2 separate regions of the Homo sapiens genome follow, and region 2 is linked to region 1. Evidence: promoter capture Hi-C in human tissues and cell types (Jung and others, 2019). All regions are on one chromosome and are shown on one strand. Each heading gives the region's core, a stretch centred on a gene start or on the middle of the fragment in contact. The rest is flanking DNA. Distances are from core to core; before and after follow the strand shown. Region 1 holds the start of ZNF138 (zinc finger protein 138). Region 2 has its middle 35 kb from the start of ZNF138.

The links. Contacts are between HindIII fragments. The study calls those that stand out against the background at their distance.
Region 2: a contact is called between a fragment that was not itself captured here and the fragment with the promoter of ZNF138 in region 1, in 1 of the 25 tissues and cell types used here (H1 embryonic stem cells).

The regions. Positions count from the first base shown.
Region 1 is chr7:64,793,089-64,799,701 of GRCh38, reverse strand. ZNF138 (zinc finger protein 138) reads right to left here and starts at 5,274. Exons shown (of 4, transcript NM_001271639.2): 1 at 5,131-5,274. The coding sequence starts at 5,133. RefSeq lists enhancers at 4,674-5,234, 5,019-5,258, 5,499-5,548. The HindIII fragment of the contact is 15,546 bases long and covers 1-6,613 here.
Region 2 is chr7:64,756,113-64,762,560 of GRCh38, reverse strand. No RefSeq gene overlaps it. Among named protein-coding and RNA genes, the nearest start is that of ZNF138, 35 kb to the left of the region's middle. The HindIII fragment of the contact is 6,380 bases long and covers 1-6,370 here.

The sequences.
Region 1 (6,613 bases), core at 4,025-6,524:
ATTGCACTCCAGCCTGGGCAACAAGAGCGAAACTCCATCTCAAAAAACAAATAAACAAACAAAAATAAAAACACAATCCCATTCACAATTGCCACAAAAATAATAAAACATCCAGGAATACAGCTGATCAGGCAAGTGAAAGATCTCTACAAGAATTACAAAACACTGCTTAAATAAGTCAGATATGACACAAATATATTGAAAATTACTTTATGCTCATGGATAGAAAAGATCAACATCAGCTGGGTGGCATGACTCAGCCTGTAATCCCAGCACTTTGGGAGGCAGAGGCGGGCAGATCACCTGAGGTTGGGAATTCAAGACCAGCCTGAACATGGAGAAACCCCGTCTTTACTAAAAATATAAAATCAGCTGGGCGTGGTGGCGCATGTCTGTAATCCCAGCTACTCAGGAGGCTGCGGCAGGAGAAATCACTTGAATCCAGAGGCAGAGGTTGCGGTGAGCCGAGATCGTGCCATTGCACTCCAGCCTGGGCAACAAGAGCAAAACTCTATCTCAAAAAAAAAAGAAAAGAAAAGATCAATATCATTAAAATGGCCATACTGCCCTAAGAAATTTACAGATCTAATGTCATTCTTATCAAGCTACCAAAAACATTCTTAACAGAACTAAAAAAACTATTTTAAAATTCATATGAAACCAACAAAGAGCCTGAATAGCCAAGGCAATTCTAAGCAAAAAGAACAAAGCTGGGCATTACATTATCCAACTTGAAACTATTCTATAAGGCTGTAACCAAAGCAGCATGGTAGTGATTAAAAAAAAAAAAAAAAGGCTCATAGAACAATGCAACAGAATAGAGCCAAGAAATAATGCCACACATCTACAACCATCTGACCATCTGATCATCAAAAAAGCTGACAAGATCAATGTAGGAAGAATTTCCTTTTTTTTTTTTTTTTGAGTCGGAGTTTCACTCTTGTTGCCCAGGCTGGAGTGCAATGGCTCAATCTCGGCTCACCACAACCTCCGCCTCCAGGTTCAAGCGTTTCTCCTGTCTCAGCCTCCTGAGTAGCTGGGATTACAGGCATGGGCCACCATGTCCGACTATTTTTTTTGTAGGGTTTCTCCATGTTGGTCAGGCTGGTCTCAAACTCCCGACCTCAGGTGATCCACCCGCCTTGGCCTCCCAAAGAGCTGGGATTACAGGCGTAAGCCACCATGCCCGGCCAGAATTCCCTATTTAATAAAATGGTACTGGAATAACTAGCTAGCACTATGTATAAGATTTTCTTTTTTGTATTTAAAAAAATAGCCGAATTTTTCTTCAGCGGTCAAATAAAATACTTCTTAATCAAAATATAGTTAAGTTTATCTCCTTCCCACAGCTCCTGAACTTTGAGCTACTCAGTCTGAGCCAACATACAACCCCATTTTATGTTTCTCCTAAAAACTTGCTGACTTCAGGGTAAAACATTTTCTAATCTAAAATCTGATTTGGGCTGAGCGTGGTGGCTCACGCCTGTAATCCCAGCACTTTGAGAGGCTGAGAAGAGCAGATCACCTGAGGTCAGGAGTTTGAGACCACCCTGGCCAATATGGCAAAACCCCATTTCTAGTAAAAATACAAAAATTAGCCCGGCATGGTGGTGGGCGGCTGTAATCCCAGCTTCTCAGGAGGCTGTGGCATGACAGTCACTTGAACCCAGGAGGCAGAGGTTGCAGTGAGGTGATATCCAGCCACTGCACTCCAGCCTGGGCAACAAAGTAAGACTCTGTCTCAAAAAAATAATTTAATTAAAAAATAAAAAATAAAATCTGATTTATACACCCTCCATTTGCCATTCCCCTCTCACCTTCTAATCTTTTTTGCTCCTCCCTAAGAAAGCCTTTATCTGCCTAAACTTTGCAATCCTTAAAGATTATATAGTTGGTACTTCCTTCTGTTGCAGTATTTTAGAATTTTTTAAAAAATAAACCTAATTTTGTTTTATTTTACAAAGTCTAGAAACTGCCTCAAAACAATAACAACTTCATCCTGAGTATGACCCTCCCAATCCCCTTCCATCTTAATGTTTACTGCATCTGCCTGTGGGTCTCCAGTTTTCCAGGGCTCTGTAGCTTCTCTCAGTATAAAGGTTCTTCCATGGCTGGGGTGAGCAGGCTCCGACATCCGCAGGGGAGGCTTCCTAGAAAGAACTAACTGGGCCTTTAATAACCTCCCTTCCCTTTGTAGGCTCAATATTAGCCTTAGCTTGCAGTCACTGGCGCAAGCTTTAATTTCCATGTCGGAGTTGTTCAAATGGTTTTTTAAACTGAAAAATTCAGCAAAATTACTCAAACACAGTGTTTATATAAGGGAAGGAAATTTTAAAGCACTTACGTCACATATCTCAAATGCAAAAGTATGTAATCTTTTAAAACGATAAATAATTATTTTATTATATCCATTAAAAATGATGTAGTAAACAATTAGTCATATGGGAACACTTCTAGGATAGACCAAGTTTCATCTTAAAAAATTTAGCATTAACCTCAGAAATCAAGATGACTGGATACAGAAGAGAGGTATTCACTGAAATGTACCCTGAAAAAGGAGGAACTGATATTTTCATGAATCTGTATAACTCACCAATTATCTACCACATCTTCTTGTGGAAATGTATTCATTTTCTTTCTTTCTTTTTTCTTGAGATGGAGTCTCGCTCTGTCGCCCAAGGTGGAGTGCAGCCGCACGATCTCAGCTCACTGCAACCTCTGCCTATGGGGTTCAAATGATTCTCCCACCTCAGCCTCCCGAATAGCTGGGATTACAGGTGCCTATCACCATTCATGGCTAATTTCTAATTTTTGTATTTTTAGTAGAGATGGGGTTTCACCATGTTGGCCAGGCTGGTCTAGAACTCCTGACCTCAGGTGATCTCCCTGCCTTGGCCTCCCACAGTGCTGGGATTTCAGGCATGAGCCACCGCACCCCGCCGGAAATGTATTCGTTTTCCACAGCCAAAATGGAAGAAGTATTTTCCCTATTCTTTTCCTTGGTAGCATTCTAAAAGCTAAGCCTTGGAATACTCTTGGACATCACCCAGCCATAAAAAAACAGACCTGAGAAAATTCCTAAACTCAGTCTGGGAAAGAAAAAGGTAAATGAGAATACTTAACAAATAGAATATATGATTAGATATTTTTTTCCAAAACCCATCTCTTTCATGCCCATTCTAATTATCCTCTTACCTTTTAGTCCTACTAATAAACTGCAAGTTACAATTAAAACACTGAAGTAAGTGAACAAATCTTTTCAGGGTGACAATCCCAGGGAGTGGCAGTGCTGATTAAAAAACAGATGTATCTCACTCACATGTCAAGTCAAGCCACCCAATCACTTGAGAGATTCTCCCACCCCATCCTGCTCACTTAAGTGCTAAACGACCACCCTCTCTGAAGACCACCCTCTCTGAAGACGCTGCACTATGCCTCAGTGACTGCCCCAAGTACATTTCACTTTGCAAGTTCTTGAACCATCTCACTGGGGTAAGGTTTGATTTGTCTTTTTGGATACTATCATTTCTTTCACAAATCTTAGAGAATCCAGTGGGCCGAAATTATTTCTGTGTTCTCCCCTCAATACCAGCATATGATTGATTGACCAGCAATATGTCTCCGGAAATGGACACTGGGTTGGTTTGAAGACAATCTTAACTTCTCAAAGGGTTTGCTTTTCAAAGGAAGAGTACACCAGGAGATTCCTCTCAGCCCCAGGGCATTCACCTGCTCCCTTGAGAGGCTACACTCCAACCTCAGGTTGTCCTCTGTCTCCCATTCCCAGATAACCAGAGTTCATTCCAGGCCAGGAGCTGAAATTTACCAGAGATTCTAGCATACACAGCCACAGTGGATATTTTGATTTATCCTCAGAAAGTACTGAAACCCAGGACCAAGGAAAAAACTGAAGAGTGACTAAGGACACATTACCTTATAAAGTTTCCAAAGGGAAACCTTGACCCAAAAATATTCTGATAAGATCTCTGTACCTAGGGAAGATTTAAAAAAAAAAAAAAAGGCACAGAGATTTTTTACAATACAGCATCAGGGGATGAGTCTTTGGTTTCTTCTCATGGGAAATATTTACAAACAGATAACAAATCTTTTTTAAAATGCCATCCATGCTTTGTCAAAAAATGATTAATTAAAATACAGTATTTCAAATGTACACTAAAGGACAAATAGTTGATAATGTGAATTAGGAAGGGGAAGTTGGCATTTGGGAATGTCAGAAGGAACTGGAAATTTAGTATTTTACTGCAAGCCAGAGTTAGGCTGAAGGAATGGGAAATGGGGAGGGGGAGGAGTCTTGAGACCCTGCTTGGGACACATGTGAAAAATGAAGGGGAAGATCTGTCCCCTGTGGAGTGTGAAAATAATTAAGTGGCAGGCAATTAGACTGAGGTCGCTCCAGTCCCAGGGTTTCTGGTTTTAAAAAAATCTAACTCAAATGCATTTTTTTGTAAATTACTACCTTGTGAAAAATAAAATTCATGTTTAACCAACTGTAAACTGCCAATTAACCTCTGATTACATGACCAGGAAATTTCCTCCTTCATTGTACAAATTAAGAAACTACATAACTCTACTAACCAATTACTGAATTTGGTTTTATCATACACCTTATACAAGTGTTTCCTTCAAACCCCTCCCACGGACCACTACTGCAAACCACAGCTGGGTGCTCCACAATTCTTGAATCACTGTTTGATTAAATTAATTTTTTTGCGGTGACTTTCATAAATTTTAATAGGGGAAAAGAGGGACAGGGAAGCCCGCGGAGGAAACCTCTTCCCATTCATGAACCCAGCACCCCGAGTCAGGATTCTCCCCTGACGACCCTCCCGTCGTCTCTGCACAATCGCTGCGGGTGCAGAGCTGCTCAGAGAGGGCTCCAGGCCAGGGCACAGTCACTGCGCAGGGAGGAGACAGGACGCCTGGTTCCGGCTGTCAGCCCAGCTGCCATGCTATGGCTTAAGGGGACTGAGGGCCGAGCTGTGCCAAGAACTCGGGGCCGCGGATTTTGCAGCCGACTGCGGGAAGACCCGAGTACTGCCACAGCCACTTCCGACCGGTTCCAACCAGCTCCCTCCCCCTCTCTCGGGATGTCGGACCCAGCACTCTCACCATTTCTAGGCTTCCGGGGGATCCTGGCGTCTTAGCTGTGAATCTCCCAATAACCAGATCACAGCGCCACAGAGGCTGGGCCTCTAGGAGTAAGAGGACGCAGAAAAGTGAAGGCCAGACCTGCAGCACCCGCTGCAGCGAGACAAAGACCCCGCCGCCTCCCGGAAGACGTCATGTCCGCTCCAGCTGGGTGCCTGATTGGACCGTTCCCAGCCCGGCGTCCCTGATTGGATAACGTTTAACAACCCGCCCCCTCAGGCCCTGAGTGACAGATGTGCTCAGGTGCTGGGCTGAAGGAAGACAGAGTTAAACCTAAGCAGCAGCCTTTTCCAGAAGGGCTTCCTCCCTGAGCTGAGTCAGGCCCACCCCAGAGGGCATTTGCATTTAACCTTGTGTATAAGGTCGTATGCATTTATAAATAACATATAGCTATTCACATCTGAATATAACAATTATTTTTAAATTCCAGATTTTATAACCGTACTGGCTTCTGGTCCTTTGAGCAGGCAGCCTGAGATTTTTTTCTTTTTTTTTTTTGAGACAGAGTCTCACTCTCACCCAGGCTCAAGCACAGTGGCACGATTTCGGCTCACCCCAAACTCCGCATCTCGGGCTCAAGTGATTCTCCTGCCTTAGCCTCCTGAGTAATTGGGATTACAGGCACCCGCCTCCACGCCCGGCTACTTTTTGTATATTTAATAGAGACAGAATTTTGCCATGTTGGTCAGGCTGATCTCGAACTCCTGACCTCAGGTGATCCACCTGCCTCGGCCTCCCAAAGTGCTGGGATTACAGAGCACATGTGAATTCCAAATTTTCTAGTAGTCAAACTTTAAGAATAAACAGGTGGAATTCACTCTAATTGAGATGGTTAGTCATTTAGGCTGGGCTCAGTGAGACCATTCTTGTGACCTCAGCTGAGTTCCTTCAGACATGTATCATCAGCTGCTTGTTGACTAGGCAGCTGTGCTTCTGGGGGTGAGCTTCTGCTTCTGAGGCTGTCAACAGAGGCAACTTGCTTCTCCTCCCCATACTATTTTATCTTCCATCTGGCTAACATGGGCTTTTTTCGCGGAGATAGTAGCCTTCTGAAAGAAAAACAGAAGCATGCAAAACCATTTGAGCCTACGCCTCAAACTAGCACACTGCACTGTTCACAGGTTTTTACTGCCCTGAGCAAATAAGGCCAGCCAGATCTAGGGTTTGGAAAACAGAACTGGATCTCAATGGAAACAGCTGTAAATGCACCTGGCAATGGGCATGGATAGCGGAGGGATGAAAAATTGCTAACATTTTTGCAATCAGTATCATTCTGCCTTTTTTTGCATATGTGGTTTATATAACTCTTCCACATCAAAAAAAAAAAAATTTGTGCAAAGACCCACAGCTATTAAGTGGCTGGGCTGGGACTCAGAATTAACTCCATTTGACCCTTGAAATCCTGGAGAGTGACACTTCTAAAATAGAAGCCAGATTTCTTTTA
Region 2 (6,448 bases), core at 1,931-4,430, 35 kb after region 1:
TTAGGAGTAAGTAACTTCATACCTAACTCTAAATTAGTTCTATTTGACAAAGTTTAGGTAGAGCCCCAGGACAATAACAACAAATCCATCCTCAAAAAGAGGCTCCCCAACCACTTCTATCCCAACTTTAACTGCATCTGACTTTGAGTATCCAGCTTTCCAGGGCTCTGTAGCTTCTGTCAGTATAAACAATTCTTCCATGGCTGAGGTGAGTAGGCTGGGACACCTGCAGGGGTGACTCACCAGTAAAAGACCAACCAACTTGGTGTTCAATCACCCCTTTTTGCAGGCTCAAGACTGGCCAGCTTGGAGTCACTGGGTTTGGGCTTTCATTTTCCAATCAGCATAGTTCACTTGATTTTTTTTTTTTTTCTGAGAGGAGTTTTGCTCTTGTCACCCAGGCTGGAGTGCAATGGCATGATCTTGGCTCACTGCAACCTCCACCTCCTGGGTTCAAGTGATTCTCCTGCCTCAGCCTCCCAAGTAGCTGGGATTACAGGCATGCGCCACCATGCCCATCTAATTTTGTGTTTTTAATAGAGATAGGGTTTCTCCATGTTGGTCAGGCTGGTCTCAAACTCCCGACCTCAGCTGATCTGCCCACCTCGGCCTCCCAAAGTTCTGGGACACTTGATTTTATATTTAAAAAAATAGTCAGTGTTTGAAGAATCTAGCAAAATTACTCAAACTCAGTGTTTATGAAAGAGAATTAAGTTGTAAGGCATTTACATTTTATATCTCAACAACAACAAAACAACGAAAAACAAGTGTCTATCCCTTTCAGACAATAAACACATCACTTATCTCTATAAAAAATAATTTAACAATTAACCATATATTAATACTTTTAGAAGGTGCCAAGTATCACCTTAAAAAATTTAGCATTAAACTTATTCAAATGACATGCTACAGAAAAGAGATTCAAAATATTACAAATTCTTCACCCTCAAAAAAAAAAGGAACTATTGTTTTGATGCATCTATGTAATGCACCAGTTGATTTACTACACGTCTTGTGGAAATGTATTCATTTTCTATAGCCATAAAAGGAGAGATATTTCCTATTTTTCCCTGGTAGCATTCTCAAAGCTAAGCCCTGAGATTCTGTTTGAAATTACCCCCAAAAAGTGGCAGACCAGAGAAACAACTACACTCACTTTTGTAAGGAAAAAAGTAAATAACAACTTTTAACAAATAAAATATATGATTAGAACCCCATCTCTACTAAAAATACAAAAAAATTAGCCAGGCATGGTGGCAGGCGCCTGTAGTCCCAGCTACCCAGCTACTCGGGAGGCTGAGGCAGGAGAATGGCATGAACCTGGGAGGCGGAGCTTACAGTGAGCCGAGATTTCGCCACTGCACTCCAGCCTGGGCGACACAGCAAGACTCCATCTCAAAAAAAAAAAAAAAAAAAAAAAAGAATTTTAAAAACCAAAATCCAACATGCCTTTTTACAAGGGTCAGGATAGTCAAGGCCCTCAGACAAATAAACTTTGGTGGTTCGGAGAGGACAGAAAATGGAGCAGGCCAATCACCTGGTAGGGCTTGTTATCAATGTCATTTGTAAGGCTACTTTAAAAAAGATTGTCCAACGAGAAACAAGCTACCCCCTCGCCCATCTCCACTATGCTGAGGCAATCACTGAAAGGCGCACTGCCCCAGAGGACAAAGGTTCTCTGGGCCAGAAGCCCCCAACCAGATGATCCAACAACAGGACTGAGGGTGCCCAGGGCAAATGCCACCTCACATCATCACCTTCACTGAGCCCCGGGTACATTTAACCATTGAGGGTCAGGAAATTGACTTCCTCCTGGACACTGGTGTGGCTCTCTCAGTGTTAATCTCCTGTCCCGGACAGCTGTCTTCAAGGTCAACTACCATCCGAGGAATCCTGGGACAGCCTGTAACCAGATATTTCTCCCACCTCCTCAGTTGTAACTGGGAGACTTTGCTACACATAGTAAGTATGCTTATCTAATCCTACAAGCCCATACTGCAATATGGAAAGAAAGGGAGTGCCTAACCTCTGGGGGAACCCCCATTAAATATCACAAGGAAACCATGGAGTTATTGCATGCAGGCAAAAACCCAAGGAAGTGGCACTCTTACACTGCCGAAGCCATCAAAAGGGGAAGGAGAGGGGAGAACAGCAGCATAAGTGGCTGGCAGAGTCAGGGAAAGATCAGCAGAGAGGAAAGACAGAGAAAGACAGGAAGAGACAGAGACAAAGAGAGACACAGAAAGAGACAGTCAAAAAGAGAGGAAGAGACAGAGACAAAGAGTCAGAGAGACAGAAAGTCAGAGAAGGAGAGAGGAAGAGACAAAGGAATCAAAGAGAGAGACAGAAAGTCAGAGAGAGGAAGAGACAGACAAAGGGGAGTCAGAGAGAGAAAAGACAGAAAGTCAAAGAGAAAGAAAGAGAGATGGAAGTAGTGGAGAAAAAACAGTGTACCCTTTTCCTTTAAAAGTCAGGGTAAATATAATTGATCATTGAAGGCCTTCTCTGTAACCCTATAACAATCCAATACCACCTTGTCAGTGTAATCAAGGGCACAGCCCAAAAGCACTGAGGCCACTGACAACCCATAGCCTTCCTATCAAAAATCCTTAACCCAGCAGGTTTCCTAACAGGGGATCTAAACCTTAACTAATTACCATACAAAGGTCCTACCAGATATAGGAGGAACTCCCTTCAGGACAGAAAGACAGGTGGTTCTTCCTGGGCGCTTAAGGGAAAAAGACACAATGGGTATTCAATAAGTGATAAGGAAACTCTTGTAGAGGCAGAGTTAGGAAAATTGCCTAAAAATTGGTCTGCTTAAACGTGTGAGCTGTTTGTGCTCAGCCAAACCTTAAAGTACTTACGGAATCAGGAAGGAGCCATCTATATCAATTCTAAGTTAATATGGACTGAGCGAAGTCTTATTAATAGCAAAGAGTAATTGAAATCCCAAGCTTACAAGGTTTTCAACAAAAGTAAAATTTGCTAAAAGTTAACACCTCTCCTTGCCCCTTTAATGGAATCCTTTTACTATTTCATCATATTATTAAGCAGCATACTAACCATACTCTTTGCCTATCTATCCCTCCTGCTTCCTTGGATACCTCATACAATCACCCCTCCCCTTCCACTAGCTCCTAATTACCTATACAAGACTCTCAACTTAACCCACTGTCTGTTAAACCAGTCCAATCCTTCCCTGGCAAATGACTGTTGGCTTTGCATCTCTCTATCAAACTCTGCTTGCGTTGCCACTCCCATTCCCGCAAAAAACTGGGTCTTTACCAACTTAACTTACCATCCTCATTATGAAGGAAAAGACCCTTTCTGACATCTAGATATGCAATCATTAGCCAACTTCCCCATCTCTGATAGGACCAAGAATACCCTAACAGGACGTGCAACCAACTTTAACATTCTTACATTTCCAACCTCACCTATTACACAAGCAATGAAAAGCCCATACATGGCCATGTAACTACGAATACCACCTTAACTTTCCAAACCCCTTTATGCATCCAACGCAATCTGTTATCAGGCCTTCCCCCGGGGCACCTACTACTCCATCAGTGTAATTACACCCTACAACTTCAAGCCCCAACTGATCATAGTAACTTCTGAGTCACCCAAACAGCTCCATTCAGACAGCATGTCTGTCTCTCAGGGTCTCCAAAAATCATCACCTCCTCCCTGCTTAACAAACAGTCCAGGTTTTGTAATGGCAAACATACTTCCTGCATGACCATTCACCCCTGGACCCCCTGCAGCAGCGCCCCCACCACTAGTGAATGCCTTTTCATCCCCTCTTTCAATCACTCTCTCCAATGGTTCCTAGTAGATACAGAACGGTTTTTTCTCCAATGGGAAAAGAGAACACAGGGAGCCACTCATTTTTCTCCCAACACCCCTTTCCAGCTGCTCACCAGAGCTACCTTGGCAAGTACTCTAGGAGTATGGGAAAACAAAAACAACAAACTCACACACCTTTTTAACATACACAACTAGTTCTGTCTACCCAGGCAAGGTATATTCTTATGTGGAACGTCAACCTATAAATCTGCCTCCCCACTATCTGGACAGGCACCTGCACCTTAGTCTTTCTAAGTCCCAACATTAACATTGCCCCAGGAAATCAGATCCTATCAGTAACCCTCAAAGCTCAAGTCCAGCAGCACAGAGCCATACAACTAATACCCCTACTTACAGGGTTAGGAATGGCTATGGCTACAGGAACCGGAATAGCCAGTTTATCTACTTTATTCTCCTACTACCACACAGTCTCAAAGGATTTCTCAGACAATTTGCAAGAAATAACGAAATCTATCCTTACTGTACAATCCCAAATAGACTCTTTGGCAGCAGTGACTCTCCAAAACTGCTGAGGCCTAGACCTCCTAACTGATGAGAAAGGAGGACTCCGCACCTTCTCAGGAGAAAAGTGTTGCTTTTACACTAACCAGTCAGGGATAGTATGAGATGCTGCCTGGCATTTACAGGAAAAGGCTTCTGAAATCAGACAATGCCTTTCACCCTCTTATACCAACTTCTGGAGTTGGGAGACATGATTTTTCTCCTTTCAAGTTCCCGTGACAGTCATCTTGTTATTACTCGCCTTCAGGCCCTGTATTTTTAACCTCCTTGTCAAATTTGTTTCCTCTAGAATCGAGGCCATCAAGCTACAGATGGTCTTAAAAATGGAACCCCAAATGAGCTCAACTAACAACTTCTACTGAGGACCCCTGGACAGACCTTCTGACCTTTTCACTGGCCTAAAGAGTTCCCCTCTGGAGGACCCTACAACTGCAGGGCCCCTTCTTCAGCCCTATCCCACAGGAGGTAGCTAGAGTGGCCATCACTCAATTCCCAACAGCAGTTGGGGTGTCCTGTTTAGAGTGGGGATTGAGAGGTGAAGCCAGCTAAGCTTCTGAGTCAGGTGGGGACTTGGAGAACTTTTGTGTCTAGCTAAAGGATTGTAAACGCACCAATCAGCATGCTGTAAAAACACACCAATCAGCACTCTGTAAAATGGACCAATCAGCACTCCGTAAAATGGACCAATCAGCACTCTGTAAAACGGACCAATCAGCAGGATATGGATGGGGCCAAATAAGGGAATAAAAGCTGGCCACCAGAGCCAGCAGTGGCAACCTGCTGCCGTCCCCTTCCACAGGGTGGAAGCTTTGTTCTTTTGCTCTTTACAATAAATCTTACTGCTGCTCACTCTTTGGGTCTGCACCACCTTTAAGAGCTGTAATACTCACCATGAAAGTCCGCAGCTTCATTGTTGAAGTCAGTGAGACCAAGAACCCACCAGAAGGAAGAAACTCCGGACATATCTGAAGACCCGAAGGAAGAAACTCCAGACACACAATCTTTAAGAGCTGTAACACTTGTTGTGAAGGTCCGTGGCTTCATTCTTGAAGTCAGCGAGACCAAGAACCCGCCAGAAGGAATAAATTCTGGACACATTTTGAGTAGGCAAGCTGAGATTTTAACAGGAGAGCAATCCTCTAAGAAATAAAATGTTAGCCATGTGTGAATTTTTTTTTTTTTTTTTTTGAGCCAGAGTCTCCAACTGTCACCAGGCTGGAATGCAATGTCATGATCTCGGTTCACTGCAACCTCCACCTCCCAGGTTCAAGCAATTCTCCTGCCTTAGCCTCCCAAGTAGCTGGGATTGCAGGTGCCTGCCACCACACCTGGCTAATTTTTTGTATTTTCAGTAGAGACGGGGTTTCACTATGTTGGCTAGGCTGGTCTCCAACTTCTGACCTTGTGATCCACTCCCCTCGGCCTCCCAAAGTGCTGGGATTACAGGCCTGAGCCACTGTGCCCATCTTGAATTTTAAGTTTTTTAGTAGCCACATTAAATATAATAAAAAGAAACAAGTGAAATTTTTTGTAATTAACCCAGTATATCCAAAATATTTTTATTTTAATACGTGATCAATATGTAATTATTAATAAAGTAATTTTTGGTTCTAAACCTTCTTAACTCACTCTGTATTTTATATTTGCAGCACATCTCATTTTAAATCTGCCACATTCCAGGTTCTTAGTAGCCTCAAATGTCAAGTAGCTGCCACATCAAAGAGCAGCTCTGAGGGATCTGACTCTCTGATCTCAGGGAGCTGAAGGGCCTAAATACCCGCTTTCTGCTGGAAATGAGGGAACAGCCTCTCCCTGCTGCAGCTTGCCATGGTTACCACAGGACTGAATGAAGGAGGACAAATGAGAAATGAAAACCTAAAACAAAAGAAACTATTTTAAAGGAAGGGGCCAGGGGAAGAAGAAGAGGACGCCCTGCGTCTGGTGAGTGAAGACAGCCACCTTGAGCTTCTACAGCCCTTCATATTTATTGGGTAGAAAAAGCAGGAAGGAGGAGGTAATGTTTGGTCAGCTGCTTGAGTGATCACAGGTTCACATTATTGCTAACAGGCTTCAG